Linked DNA regions of Homo sapiens: region 2 is linked to region 1. Evidence: promoter capture Hi-C in human tissues and cell types (Jung and others, 2019). All regions are on one chromosome and are shown on one strand. The core of a region is centred on a gene start or on the middle of the fragment in contact, and the rest is flanking DNA. Distances in the headings are between cores, read along the strand shown.

What was found. Contacts are between HindIII fragments. The study calls those that stand out against the background at their distance.
Region 2: a fragment that was not itself captured here is called in contact with the fragment with the promoter of AGAP1 in region 1 in 3 of the 25 tissues and cell types used here (dorsolateral prefrontal cortex, heart right ventricle and mesenchymal stem cells).

Annotation. Positions count from the first base shown.
Region 1 is chr2:235,490,055-235,497,136 of GRCh38, reverse strand. AGAP1 (ArfGAP with GTPase domain, ankyrin repeat and PH domain 1) reads right to left here and starts at 3,094. Exons shown (of 18, transcript NM_001037131.3): 1 at 2,288-3,094. The coding sequence starts at 2,450. RefSeq lists an enhancer at 967-1,840. The HindIII fragment of the contact is 11,360 bases long and covers 1-7,082 here.
Region 2 is chr2:235,114,384-235,121,314 of GRCh38, reverse strand. No RefSeq gene overlaps it. Among named protein-coding and RNA genes, the nearest start is that of SH3BP4, 170 kb to the right of the region's middle. RefSeq lists an enhancer at 6,737-6,931. The HindIII fragment of the contact is 4,047 bases long and covers 2,111-6,157 here.

The DNA of each region.
Region 1 (7,082 bases), core at 1,845-4,344:
CACCCACCCTCACAGGGTTGGTGAAGCCACACAATGAGACTATACATGCAAAAATATTTCTGTTAAAGTTCTACAGAAATGAAAAGTGGTATCATTATTGATAACAGAAGAACATGCAAAGAACAGCAGCATGTCTGAGTGGTTCTTAAGCCTCACTAAATTAACTACAGCTCCACATAATGTAGACATCCCTATTTCTAAGAGAAAAATAACAGCATCACCCCAGTCCCAAACAGGATTCACCCAATGATTCTAAGCCTTATTAAAAATGACAAGGATCCCGGCCAAGAAGGGGCCTAAAATCTCAAATCGCAAAGGTAGGCATCGTGCTGTCAAAAAAAACCATCATCTAGGAACGACGCATTTTTTTTTTCTTTTAAGGGAGAAAGGAAAATGCAACCACATCCTCTTGCTAGAAAGTCAAACTGCTTTGCTGGAAGTGCTTGAGCCCCAGAGCTCAGCTTCAAGAATGGGAAATAAAAACGAGGTGTTGTGAACCCCACTCAGCCAGAGGTCTTCATGCAGCAAAAGAGGCTCTCAGCCAGGTGCCTTCAATACCTGACGCCGGCTTTCACAGTGTTTCATCAGACTTCTGTGGATGCAGCCAGAGAGCCAGGAAGAACCATCTGAAATGAGCACCGTGCAGCCTTCACAGCTCCCGTAACAGACGCAGAGCTGGAGCTCTGGAGGAACCTTGCTGCAACACCACCTGATCATCAGCAGATGGGTCCAGGTCCCACCGCCACTCATCACGAGTCATGCAGAGGCAGACAGAGCCCATCTCTTGAGGAATCCACAGAGCATCTTAAGTCACCAACAAGGCAGCCAGGTGACCTCATGGGAGACAGATACACACAAAGGGCTAGGACCCCATAAGGCTGGAGCTCCACCCGGATCCTCCCCTGGAATTAACAAGTCCCCCAAGGGTATAGTCTGCCAGTCATCCAGCCTGGCTGGGACATGGTTCAAGTCTACAGGGCTGCCAAATGCCAAGGGCTCAGCAACACAACATCCACTTTCTCCACCTAACTGGCCAAGTTTCAAACCAAAGCACTTCGGGGTTAGTAGTTCAGACTACATAGTGCCAAGGCAAAGCCTCTCTGTGGGCTGATACCCTCTCCCTCACAGAGGGAGGAGGCTGGGCAACGCCAGCACCAGGCTTTCAGGCACATTCCTGCCGGCTTTGGGCCATTCTCAATGTTCCTCAATAGAGGTCTTACCGGCCAGTCTGTATTATGGACAAGCCACTCTGCAGGCTTTTTACCATCACTGGCCAACAGCGCTGAGAAGGGAGAAAGTGCTGATCAACTGTGGCTAAGATATGACTCCACACTGTCCACGCACATGCCACCTGGTGCCCCAGGTGAGTCTTGGCCGGACCAAAGGGATGAAGCAAGAAAATAAATCAGCAGCCTGGAAACAGAGAAATGAGAGCCACCAGAAATCCAGAGGGCACAGCCCCGGAAGGCAGACTGCTGCTGTAGCTCTCCTGGAAGGCCATGGCCCTGCCTGACATGCAGAGGGAAGCGGGTGGGGATTCTGCCCAAGCATCCTGCCCCTCTTAAAACCACAGCACCCTCCACTTCAGTGGCCTCCAACTGCAGACATATGAAAGCGAGACCCTTCCGCTGGAGGACGCCCTGCCCTCCTGGTAGGGTTCTTCCTCTAATCCAACCCCGGACTTTTGGTTGGTACAAAGCACACTACCGGTTCCAGCGTTTGCACAGGGGCACCTGGACACGATGCTCCCGCGGCTAGGGCTGGCTCTCGGCATCCACTAAGTTCAACTGCACCCCTGAATTAAGCAAACACACTAAGGAGGGCAGCCCTGCACCGCCCAAACACGCCGGCCCGGGCCTCGCCCCCAGCGGCAGCACTTCTCAGAACACGTCTTCAACGTCCAGCAAGACGCCCAGGCCTGGCCTGGTAACCTGTCAGGGGTCGGGTGGCGCCGACCCCGCCGGCTGCCCCCAGGCGTCTGCTGGGCCGGGACGCTCCGGCAGCCCAGGACGCGGAGGCACCGAGCCACTTTCCCGCAGGAGAGACTCTATTGTCCACGATCAAATTAACGCTGACGATCTATCTTCCTGGCGGAGCTCGCGGCGCGGCGGGGCGCAGGCGACGCTCGCCCGGCCTTGCAAGACAAGCAGCGCCGCAGTGCTCCCTCGGCGGAGCAGCCGCGTGCCCCGGCCGGCGTGTGTGGACACCCGCACGCACACAGCGCACACCCCCGCCGCGCCGCGGGCGTCCGTGCCTTCCCGAGGCCCCAAGGCGGCCCGGCCCTCACCTTCGATGGCGATGACGTGCTCCCGGATCTGGTTCTGCAGCACCGGCTCCTCCACGCGCTCCAGCAGCTCGTAGATGGAGTAGATGTTGGGGTGGACCGACTCGAAGCGCTGGATCTCGGCCCGGATGGCAGCCGAGTTGGCCAGCTGCTGCTGGTAGTTCATGGTGCAGGCGCCGCGCCCGGAGCCGCGCGCCCCCCGCCGCCGCCGCCCCGCGCCCCGGGGCCCGCGGGCCGCCGAGCCCGGGGCGCCGCAGCCCCCGGGGAGCCGGGCCCGCCGGCGGCGGGCGGAGGAGGCGCGAGAAGAAAGGCGCGGGCGGAGCAGGCGCGGGGCTGGCCCGCGGGCTCAGTTCATGGCCGGGACGCGCGGCCGGCGAGCGAGCGGGCCCCGGCGTCCCGGGTCAGCGGGCCGCCCGGGGGGAGCGCGCCCCCATGGAGCGCGCCGCGGCGGGTGCGGCCGGCCCCGAAGGAGGCTTGCTCGGGTGACTTCCTGAGCCGCAGCCGCCTTCCAGCCCTAGGCGCTGCTCCGCGGAGCAGCCATTAAAGCCCAGGCAGCCGCCGCGCTCCGAGCGCCGGGGCCGAGGGCCGACCCCTGGGCAGTGTGGCCGCGCTGCTCTGGGCTCCTGGCCGTGGCGTGGGTCCGCGCGCTGCGTACTGCGCCGCCCGGCGCGCCGGGGCCCCCGCGCGAGCCCGCCGTGCGCCGCCCGCCGACCTGGGACCGAGTCGCAGGCGCCTTGCAAGCCGCGGAGCCCGCTCCGAGCGCCGCCCGCCGCCTGCCCGGCCGGCCCCCTCCCTGGCACGCAGGGCTCCGGCCCACGTCGGCCCCGCCCCCGCCTTCGCCCTCGCCCGCGCCCGCGCCCGCGCCCCGCCTGCCCGCGCGCTTGCCGCCCTCCGGCCGCCGGCGCTGCGTCCTCCTCGGCGCTTCCCAGCGCGCCGGATCCCGGGGAATTGCGCCAGGCCCCGCCCCGCGCCTGCCTCTGGGCTTCCTGGGACTTGTAGTCCGCGCCCCCGGCGGGCCGGGCCAGGGGGGTGCGCGGGGTGTTCACACTGGGCCGGGGTGCGGGACCCTCCCGCCGGCCAGGCCCCGCGCCTGCCAGCTCCTGCCCGGGTTCTCGCGGCGGCCCCCGCGCCCCGGCACGGGGGAGGCTGCCCGGGAGTTCGCCCGCCGCGTTGTTGTTTGTTTCCAAGCGGCTGGCTCCAGGAGCCTCTGCGACTCGCCAGTGTCCCACGGCCTCGCTTGGTTGGCGAGCCTCCCCTTCCCGCGTTTGGTAACTTTCTGCCTCCTTTCTCAAAGTAGCACACGTGCTTTCCCTTAATACATGCGATTTCTTTCCAAAGGCGAAGCGCCTCCTGAGCCCATGCGGCGTGGGGGTCCACACTCCACGAGTGGACTGAAGTTTAGACAGGGGTGCGAGATGCGACAAAATACCACAGAGGCTTTCGAGGCATCCTTCTCCCTTACAATTTTTAAAAATCGAGCCGTGGATCTCAAGCTGCTGCCTCCTGAGCGCCGCTGCCTGCTCCACGGGGTTCCTTAGCCCCTGGACCGTCTGTCCCACCGCAATCCCCGATTTAGGTCATCCCCGGGGACCCCCCGCGGAGCTGGGACCGCACTGCAGCAGCGCTTGGAAGGCTCGTCTCGCCGCTTTGAGGCAAATGGGACCCTTCAGATTTGCGGAAGCACTGGCTGCCGGGCGGTCCCACAAGGTCCTGGATTGAGGACACTGGCTGAGTCCCTGCCCCCAGCCATCGGCGTGGTCTTTCTGAAACTCAGCCAGCCGGGCCGGCATCCCCGTTTAAAGCCTGCTGAGCCTTCACCGGCTCACATGCAGTTTGCTATGGCCTAAGCACCCTGGTATCCAGCCGTGTTGGCTTACTGGCTGGGCTCCACAACTTCCCAAAGATGTGCTGACATTTTTACCATTCCGGACCTGCTTGTCTTCTCCTTGACACTTAGGCACAGGTCATCACTCCATGCCTCGGGCTGTCCACGCATAAGTAACTCTAGTAACCAAGAGGCAGGCATGTGGCCTCACCAAACCTGACCTATCAGCAGCAGCTGATCACTTGCGCTCCTGGAAACCCCTTCTCCCAGTGCTCACCAGGGCTTCCTGCTGTGTTTCTGGCTTCACTGTCCCTTTTGTGGTTTTCTTCTACTCCCCTAACCTCTAAATATGGAGGGCCCCAGGGCTTATGGTTAGGCCTCTTTTCTTTGCTATTTGCTGTGATCGCCCCTGTCTTATGGCTTTGAATATCATACACAGGTTAATGAAGCTCATATGTATCTCCAGCTGTGACCTCACCCCTGAATAACAAATTCACATCCACCTGCATCCTCAACATTTCCTGAAGCCTAGCTGGTGTTTAAGTCCAGCATGTCGCCAGCTGAACTCCTGCCATCCCTTCCGGCTACATCTCCTAAAAATCTTCTCCATCCCAGTCATCGGCAACTCCAGGCCACCATTTGCTTAGGCGAAAAATTCAGTGCTGTCCTTTTTGCTTATCATTCTCTCATATCCCAAATGGTGTCAGCTCCACCTTCAGAGGATCCAGAATCCCACGACTTCTCACCACTCGGCTGAAGTCAGGATCATCTAGCTGGACCATCACTAGATCTAACAATTGTAATAGCTCACTGCTTCCTACCTGGTGAAACTTACAAAACCTACGTCCGGACTTGTCATGCCTTTTCTCAAAACCCTCCAATGACTCCCATCTGGCCTCGCCCCACAGGCATGAGCTCTTATCAAGAGCTGCTCAGGGGCTGAGCTATTCCCCTACTTGTAAGCTAACAAGTTAGCCTGCCACAATTCATGGATGCTGGCAGAAGACATGAGACTCCCAGATCAGAAACAAAGGACTTTGTTATTCATAATAGTAGCATTAGCTGGAATATCAGCATTTTCATGCACCAGTTTACTGAGACCCAATTCCCACGGGCAACATGAGGCCCAGGTGAAGCCTGTACTTGGAGTCAGCTGCCCTATACGAGTTTTATAAGTTTTTAACCCTTAGCTTAGAGAGCTCAGATCTTTCATACGGGCAGTAAGTGTGTCTGCCCTTCACTCCAGAGGGAGACACTGTTTTTATCATGGACAGTAAGCATGTCTACCCTTGACTGTGGCAGAAAACATTATCTCTGTCTTCCAAGGCTGTTTGCTCTGCAAACATCCTTGAGAATATAGTCCAGAGCAAAGGCGCCTGGTGTCTCTACCTGTGTACCTGTGTTACCCAGCAAGGGCTGCCATAAAAACCTTCCACAGGCCTGGCATGATGCCTCATGCCTATAATCCAACACTTTGGGAGGATTGCTTGAGCCCAGGAGTTCGAGACCAGCCTGGGCAACATGGTGAAACCCCATCTCTACAAAAAATACAACAATTAGCCAGGCACAGTGGTGTGAGCCTCTAGTCCCAGCTACTCCGGAGGCTGTGCAGGGAGGATGGCTTGAGCCCAGGAGGTCAAGGTTGCAGTAAGCTGTGATCATACCACGGCACTCTAGCCTGGAGGACAGAGCAAGACCATCTCAAAAAAAAAAAGGCCGGGCGTGGTGTCTTACGCCTGTAATCCCAGCACTTCGGGAGGCCGAGGCAGGCGGATCACGAGGTCAGGAGATCGAGATCATCCTGGCTAACATGGTGAAACCCCGTCTCTACTAAAAATACAAAAAAATCAGCCGGGTGCAGTGGCGGGTGCCTGTAGTCCCAGCTACTCGGTAGGCTGAGGCAGGAGAATGGCGTGAACCCGAGAGGTGGAGGTGGAGCTTGCAGTGAGCCAAGATCGTGCCACTGCACTCCAGCCTGGGTGACAGAGGGAGACTCCTTCTCAAAAAAACAAAACAAAACAAACACACAAAAAAAACTTCCACAGGCTGCATGGCTTTAACAGAAATCCATTTTCTCAAAATGCAGGAGGCTCAAAGAGCCAAGATCAAGCTGTTGCAGGGTTGGTTTCCCCTTGGCTTGTGGATGCTGCCTTCTCACTGTGTTCTCACAGGGTCTTTCCTCTGTGTGTCTGTGTCCCCATCTCCCCTTCTTAGAAGAACTCCATTCATATTGGATTAGACCCCTTCCTAATGACATCGTCTTAGCTTAGTCATCTCTTTCAAGGTCCAATTTCTGAATATAGTCATATTCTGGGGTACTGGGAGTTAGGACTTTAATATATGAATTTTGGGGACATAATTCAGCCTATGACTGTCTCTCTCGCCACAGCATCTCTACTTCTAGCCTGTTCTCTCCTCTTCGGCCACACTGGCCTCCTTGTTGCCCCCTAAATATACCCATCACACCCCCACCCTTGTCATCTGCTTCTCTGTCTCCCTGACCCCTTCACCAGGACTTTTGTTTCCTTATGTATTTGCTCCAAAGCCACCTTCTCAATGCGACTTTCCCTAACATCTTCTCTAAAATGGCATCCCTGTTCCCCAACACTTCATGTCCCCCTTCCTTGCCACAGTAGAAAGAATAATGGTCCCCTAAGATGCCCACATCCTAATCCCTGAAACAAGTAGATATGTTAGTCTAAGTGGCAAAGGACTTTACAGGTCTGATTAAATTAAGGACCTTGAGATGAAGATATTATCCCAGATTATCTGAGTGGGCCCAGTGTAATCACAGGAGGCCTTATACGAGGAAGGCAGGAGGGTCAGAATCAGAGGAGATATGATGACAGGTGTAAGAGAGAGAGAGAGGAGAGGAAGGCAAGGGAGAGAGAGAGATTGGAAGATGCCGCTGGGCTGACTTTGAAGATGCAGGAGGGGGCCACCAGCCAGGGAATGTGGGCTGCCTCTACAAAC
Region 2 (6,931 bases), core at 2,885-5,384, 380 kb after region 1:
CCATTTAATGTAAAGCAAGGAACTATGTCGTTTACACTTTATGTGAATTAACTTCACCACCACTCCCCACCCCGCCCCCTGCCAACACACACACATTCACAAACTTATTTTCCAAAGACACATATCAAACCCTCTAGGGCAGCTCCATCTGAAGAAAGAACTAAGGAGGAGAGAATTGGAGAATGTGGAGGCGGGAAAAAAATGAATGTATTAAAAGCCAAGAGGGAGTCTTGTACAAATCATGGTGATGTTGTACCTTGAACTGAAGAGAATAACTAATTTAAATCTCTGCAACTGAAGTGCCAAAAAGAAAAGTAAAACAGAAAAGTATCTGTATGTTCTTAGCTTACAAAATCTTTGTTTTTATCAAGAATGGATCTGGCCCCCCCTCCGAAATCTCTTATTTCATTTGTTCCTTTTATCTACTTGATTAAATTTATTAAGAGAATAATTGTGTTTCACTGTATGACAATACCATAATTTATATATTCATTCTACTATTCAAGGATATTTGCATTGTTTTGCATTTTTAGCTTTACATTTAATGTTGCTATGAATGCTTTTGCGCATATATTTTGGTATATTTGTGCATGGGCCATAAAATATGTGTATATTCAATTTTAATAAATAATACTAAATAGATTTCCAAAGTGCTTATATCAATTTACTTACACTGCCACTAATAGTGCACATGAATTACTCCACATCCTCATCAACACTTAATGAAGTCAGTCTTTTAATTTCAGCTCATCTAGAATGTATTTAAGAATTTAGCTAATAAAATGGTAGTCTCTTACTGTGTTTTAAATTTGTATTTCTCTGGTAGCTAATGAAGTCGAAGTTCTTCTTAGATTCTTTTGGAAAGTTCCTGATCAAATTTTTTACACATTTTCCTTTTCATTGATCTTGAATATAAGCCTTTGGTCAAGTACATGGTTCACAAATATAAACATTTATATTTGTTGGTATTGCATTTTTATTCTTTTAAAGGTCTATTTTGGTAAACAGAAATGCTTAATGTCAATCATCAATTTATGTTTAATTTATCAATTATGTTCATTAGGTTTAGTGTCTTTTTAAAAATCTATTTCAGAAATCGGTTCTTACATCAAAGTCATGAAGATATTCTCCATCTTTAGTATTTCTTTTAGTGCAAGTCTACTGGATACAAATTTTCTCAGCTTTCATTTGTCAAAAATTCCTTATTTTGCTTTATTTTCATTAATATTTTCAATGTTTATAAAATTTTAGTTTGGCTGATACCTAGCCCTTTAAAGATGTCATTCCACTTGCTCCCATGAGTATGTTGTACAGTCAGCTGTAAGCTTTATTCTTGATCCTTTGAAAGTAAAGTATTCCCACTATTCCCGCCTGCTTTTAAGATTTTCATTTTGTCTTTGGTTTTCAGCAGCTTGACTAAGATGTGCCTATTCTAGTTATCTTGGGGTTTGCATAGACTCTTGAACCTGTGGGTTGTTGTCTTTCATTATATTTTAAAACATATACTTAGCCATTCTGTCTTCAAATATTATTTATGCTCTTTTCCCTCTTCTCCTTTGGGGACACAATATTCTGTATATGTACACAATATTCTGTACTGTTCATTCCATTATTTTTCTCTCTTTGCTTCAGTTTGAATAAATTCTATTCCTCCCCATCTTCTGTTATGTCCAGTGTACTGTTAAATTCATCTAATGAATTCTTCATTTCAAATATTGTATTTTTCAGTTCTAGACCGCCCAGTTGCTTTGTTCATATATATTCAATTATGTTGAAATTCTCTATATTTTCTCTTGTTTTTCCATGCCATCCTTTATTTTCTTGAATGGCTAATCAATTTTTAAAATTTCTCTTTGATAACTCCAATATCTAAATCACCTGTGAGACTATATATAATGTTTACATTTTTCTTAACGTTTGTTTCTCTTGGTCCTGTCTTTTTTACCATAACCTTTAATTTTTATATTTTATTTTGCTCATTGTAGATAAAAATTGTAGAGGCTCCGATAATGATGTTTTTCTTCAAAGAAAGTTTTTTTCTTCCTGTCAGGCAGTTCTCTATCAGTGAATCACCTTGGGTCCCATGGAGGCTTGATTTTCAGCTTTGTTAGAGGTGGTCTCTATTCCTCATGCAACGATTTAAAAAAATTCCCACAGGGAAAACAACCAGGGTTAATGTAGACATTATCTTGTGTGAGCACTATTCGCAATAGCAAAGACCTGGAACCAACCCAAATGTCCAACAATGATAGACTGGATTAAGAAAGTGTGGCACATACACACCATGGAATACTATGCAGCCATAAAAAATGATGAGTTCATGTCCTTTGTAGGGACATGGATGAAGCTGGAAACTATCATTATCAGCAAACTATTGCAAGGACAAAAAACCAAACATCGCATGTTCTCACTCATAGGTGGGAATTGAACAATGAGAACACATGGACACAGGAAGGGGAACATCACACACCGGGGCCTGTTGTGGAGTGGGGGGAGGGGGGAGGGATAGCATTAGGAGATATACCTAATGTAAATGACAAGTTAATGGGTGCAGCACACCAACATGGCACATGTATACATATGTAACAAACCTGCACGTTGTGCACATGTACCCTAGAACTTAAAGTATAATAAAAAAAAGAGAGAAAAAAAAAGAATACCAGAAAAGAAAAAAAAGAAATTATCTTGTGTGCTTCCCTTCTCTCACTCTCACAATTGTGCCTTTCAGTACTGTCTACATTAGTTGCTGCCCACTGCTTCACACAGTCATTTTGTACATTTTATTCAGCTTTTATAGGATTTTTTCTTGGCATGAAAGTTAGTCCAATTTAAGTCACTCCATTATGTCTGAAAGCAGACACTTGATTTGTCTCAATTAGAGATATTTTACAAAGCTTTTATGGCCTCACTTTTTACATGCCTGATTGGAATATAGAATGTTGGCGTTGTGAGTATGTGCGTGTGTATTTGTATATACACATACTTCTACTGCTTTCATGCTTCTGTTAATTACTCCTTGTATTTCAGTTTTTGCTTTATGTATTTTTAAAGCTGTAGATGGCACTTTCTATAAATTTAAATGTCCAATTTTGTCTCAAGTATTTTTTCTAGCCATTGCTGTCATAAAATTTCTTTCTCTCGCTAGTAGTTTGGTAGCCTGGAAAAAATAGGAGTGGAGAAACTCCAGAGACCATAATAGCAGGGAGAGTTACCACCTTACCACTTTGTTTCTTATCGTCTTTGCCAAACCATCCAAACATTTATCTGTTTTGTTCACCGTTGCCTGTCATGCTTTCCATATAGAATAAACTTTTAATGTTATTTAATTGTAACTTCTCTTTTAATCAGCAGTCTATTGTGGTTTTGTATTCTAATAGAAGATGGAAGCCTTTGCCTTTTAATAAATAGCACTTATTACGTGTCAGATTTTATGCTTTTTTTTTCAGTCACCTTGATATTTCTTTTTTGTTATTCCATTTACTCTAGGAAACTGTGATTCACTTCCCCATGTAAAACTGATCCCCAGGCATTCAATCTATTCCTTAGTCGTTAGTGGTTGCCCACTAAGTTTCAAGCGAGGAGACAGCTTCCTGACTTTCAATCCATTAATACATTTTGATCACAGTCCCACCACTTAACTATCTTTGTCATCTCAGGTAAGGTCCTCAGTTTTGTCACCTCTAGAACAAATCAATTAAACAAAATGATTTGTTCTCTACAAGTATAAAGGTTTAAAAGATAGTATTCCACTAGGCTTTTTTGCTTATTTTCTTAATAAAAACACCCCAAATATTTCTAAAGCAGCAGGCTTCTTAGCTTTCTCTGAAATTACTTCAGGCAAAGGCACTATTCAATTATGCTTATCAGCTCAGACTGATGGGCTATATGTCTAAAATTGGCCCATAAAGGTAAAAGCATTATTAATTAATACATGAAAGCTTAGGAAATAAAGTACTTTGGAAAATCTATGAATTTTCATTTGAATAACATTACAAAAGAATTTAAGTTGCAAGACCATATACAACATCATAAGTTAGGGAGGAAAATAAAGAATAAAAAGAAATTTCAGATACAGAACCAATGGAGATGGAATTACTAGTTTGGGATGAACGGACTGGAAATAAACAAGCTACTGTTTCCTTCCTCGTCTTTTCACAATCCGCTGCAATGGATTCAGAAAAAGAAAGATTGTAATTGTTACAGCCTGTTTATTTCCACCAGGGGGAGGTATAGTATTGCAAATAAAGTTAAATTATTTAACAAACAGAGTAATAAAATAGCTATTGACTGAAAACAGGCTTTTTTTTTCTGGTTTTGCAGAAAGAAGGTAGGGAAGAGAGAGTTCTAAGACTGTGTGAATTAACCTTTCATGCTTAATTCCTGTACCATTTGATAAGGAGAAGAGAAACTCCTGTGTAGGAATTCAATAAAATTTGTCCTTCTCCAGAAAAAACTTCATACTATAATTTTGAAAAAAATAAAATATATATTGACATAAACTTCACCTTTGTATTAACTCTTCCTAAGATATATGTCATTTTCAATGAAAATCTATGAAACCTTTGTCAAAATTGACCTGGAATATGAGTGAAATGATAATAATTGTGGGTTTTACAAATTAATTTGAAATAATTTAGAATGTATCAAGCACTGGTCGATGAGGGAAGGATATAAACAACACACAACTAAGGGCTGCTGCCCAGGAGGCACCAACAATTAAAGGCTGAGATCGTGGTAAGCAGATCCAAGGAATGAAAGGAAAAAAAAGAAGGTGTTTGAAACAAACTCTTGGAGGCCCCAGAGTCTGCAGTGAACACAAAAACTGCAGGGGCTGGAAGCAGAGGAGCAGGGGCAAGTCGTGGGGGAGAGGATGGCTTGGCCTGCAGGATGGGAGCATCGGGAAGGACCACGGGGTGAGAGAGGCAGAGCTTCACTTTCAGGAAAAGTGGGAGCTAAGGCATGGCTGGAGAGGTGGCTTCGCATTATGGATGACCTTGAGTGCAGAGCCAAAGATGAGAGATGTGGCCAGATGAGGCACGATGACAGCAGCATCAGGTGGGGGTGTGCGGGTGGAAGGGGACTGAGCTGAATGTCCCTGAGTCTCAGACCAGAGAACCAGGCTCAGCCAATACTTTCTCATGCTCACATCTCTGGTCAAGTCACAGAAGGACTCACTTCCACCACCTCCTCTATGCTGCAAACGAAATGCCACCCACACGGTACCCTTCTTTGTTTGAGTTATGTAAATTAAAAATAGTGTGATATAGGAAAGATTAATAAAATCTCACTCCAAATGAGATGGATCTTCTCCAAACTAGGAAGAAGAATCACTGAGAATTGCATACTGTAATTTCAAAGCTTGCAAGCAGAGTCCATTCTAGCTTGTCTTTATGCTATTGTCATATGGCAGGAATAGTTCCACTGTGTACAGAAATTCCTACCCATCCTTTAAAAAATTATATGAATATTTTAAAATTTCAAAGCCGCTTGCAAGCTTTGAAATTACAGTATGCTATTCTTGGTGATTTTTTTTCTTAGTTTGGAGAGAATCCATGTCATTTGGAGTGAGATTTCATGAATCTTTCCTATATCAAATTTACATAGCTCAATATAAAACAATAGACTTTCAAAAACAGATGCGTCATTAATTATCATTCAGCTGATTTTCTCTGCCATGTGAAATCCAAATATATCTCAATGGTCCACGTGGCCCATTCTCACCATGGTGTCATCCAAAGCATGCGAAGTAACTGTAATGCCAATCACAGTCATGTCTCTAAGAAAGTTAAATGACATATATTTCACACACGACAGTAATCCTTTTAAAATTCCTTTTCTTCTTTTCTTTTTTCTCCCTCTCTACAAGCCCCTAAACTTTTCTGAAGCCTACCCATTTGCTTTTTCTGTTTCTTCTCTGCTTTGCTTTTTCTGCGTTCTAAGTCAGCTTAGCCTTTCTACTTTCTTTTAGGTTTCTTTCCTCTACAACCGTGAGCAGATTCTCCATAACCAGTGAGATCTCAGATCTGACTCAGGAAAGGGTGTCTTCACCATGTAGCCAACACTTTTATTTTTTATTACCCTTGCTTTGTTATATAATATTTTAACATAAGGCTTCAACTACCTCCATACTACTTTGATTTTTTTCCTCCGCATCATTCTTAATGTTTTTCAGTGGCCTCTTCTAAAATAGCAAGTAGTATAATAGTGCTTCTTTGGCCTCCTCACCATTGACTTTTTTGTGTTTTTTTGGTTTTTTGTTTGTTTTTTGAGATGGAGTTTCACTCTTGTCACCCAGGCTGGAGTGCAATGGCACAATCTTGGCCCACCACAATCTCTGCCTCCCAGGTTCAAGCGATTCTCCTGCCTCGGCCTCCCAAGTAGCTGGGATTATAGGCGCCCGCCACCATGCCTGACTAACTTTTGTATTTTTAGTAGAGATGGGGTTTCACCGTGTTGGCCAGGCTGGTGTCGAACTCTTGACCTCAGGTGATCTGCCTGCCTCGGCCTCCCAAAGTGCTGGGATTATAGGTCTGAGCCACCGTGCCCGGCCTGTCACCACTGACTTCTGATTTAAGGACACAGATTGTCACACAGCAACGGTACCACCACTTCTCGATGGCTTAGATGACGTTCCCATAGGAGATAATAACGATGTTAAAATTGCACGACAATGGTTGCTCACAGAAGTTCAGATGCAAACGAACAGCCACGTGCTTCATATTATTCTTTTAAAAGCTGGGTAGGAATTTCTTTTCAGTGGAAGTATCCCTAGCATATGACGACAGCACGAAGACGAGTCAGAATTGGCTGTGCTTGCAAGCTTTGAAATTATAGAATGCAATTCTCAGTGACTGTTTTTCTTAGTTTGGAGAAGATCCATCTCATTTAGAGTGAGGTTTTTAAAATCTTTCCTATATCACACTATTTTAAT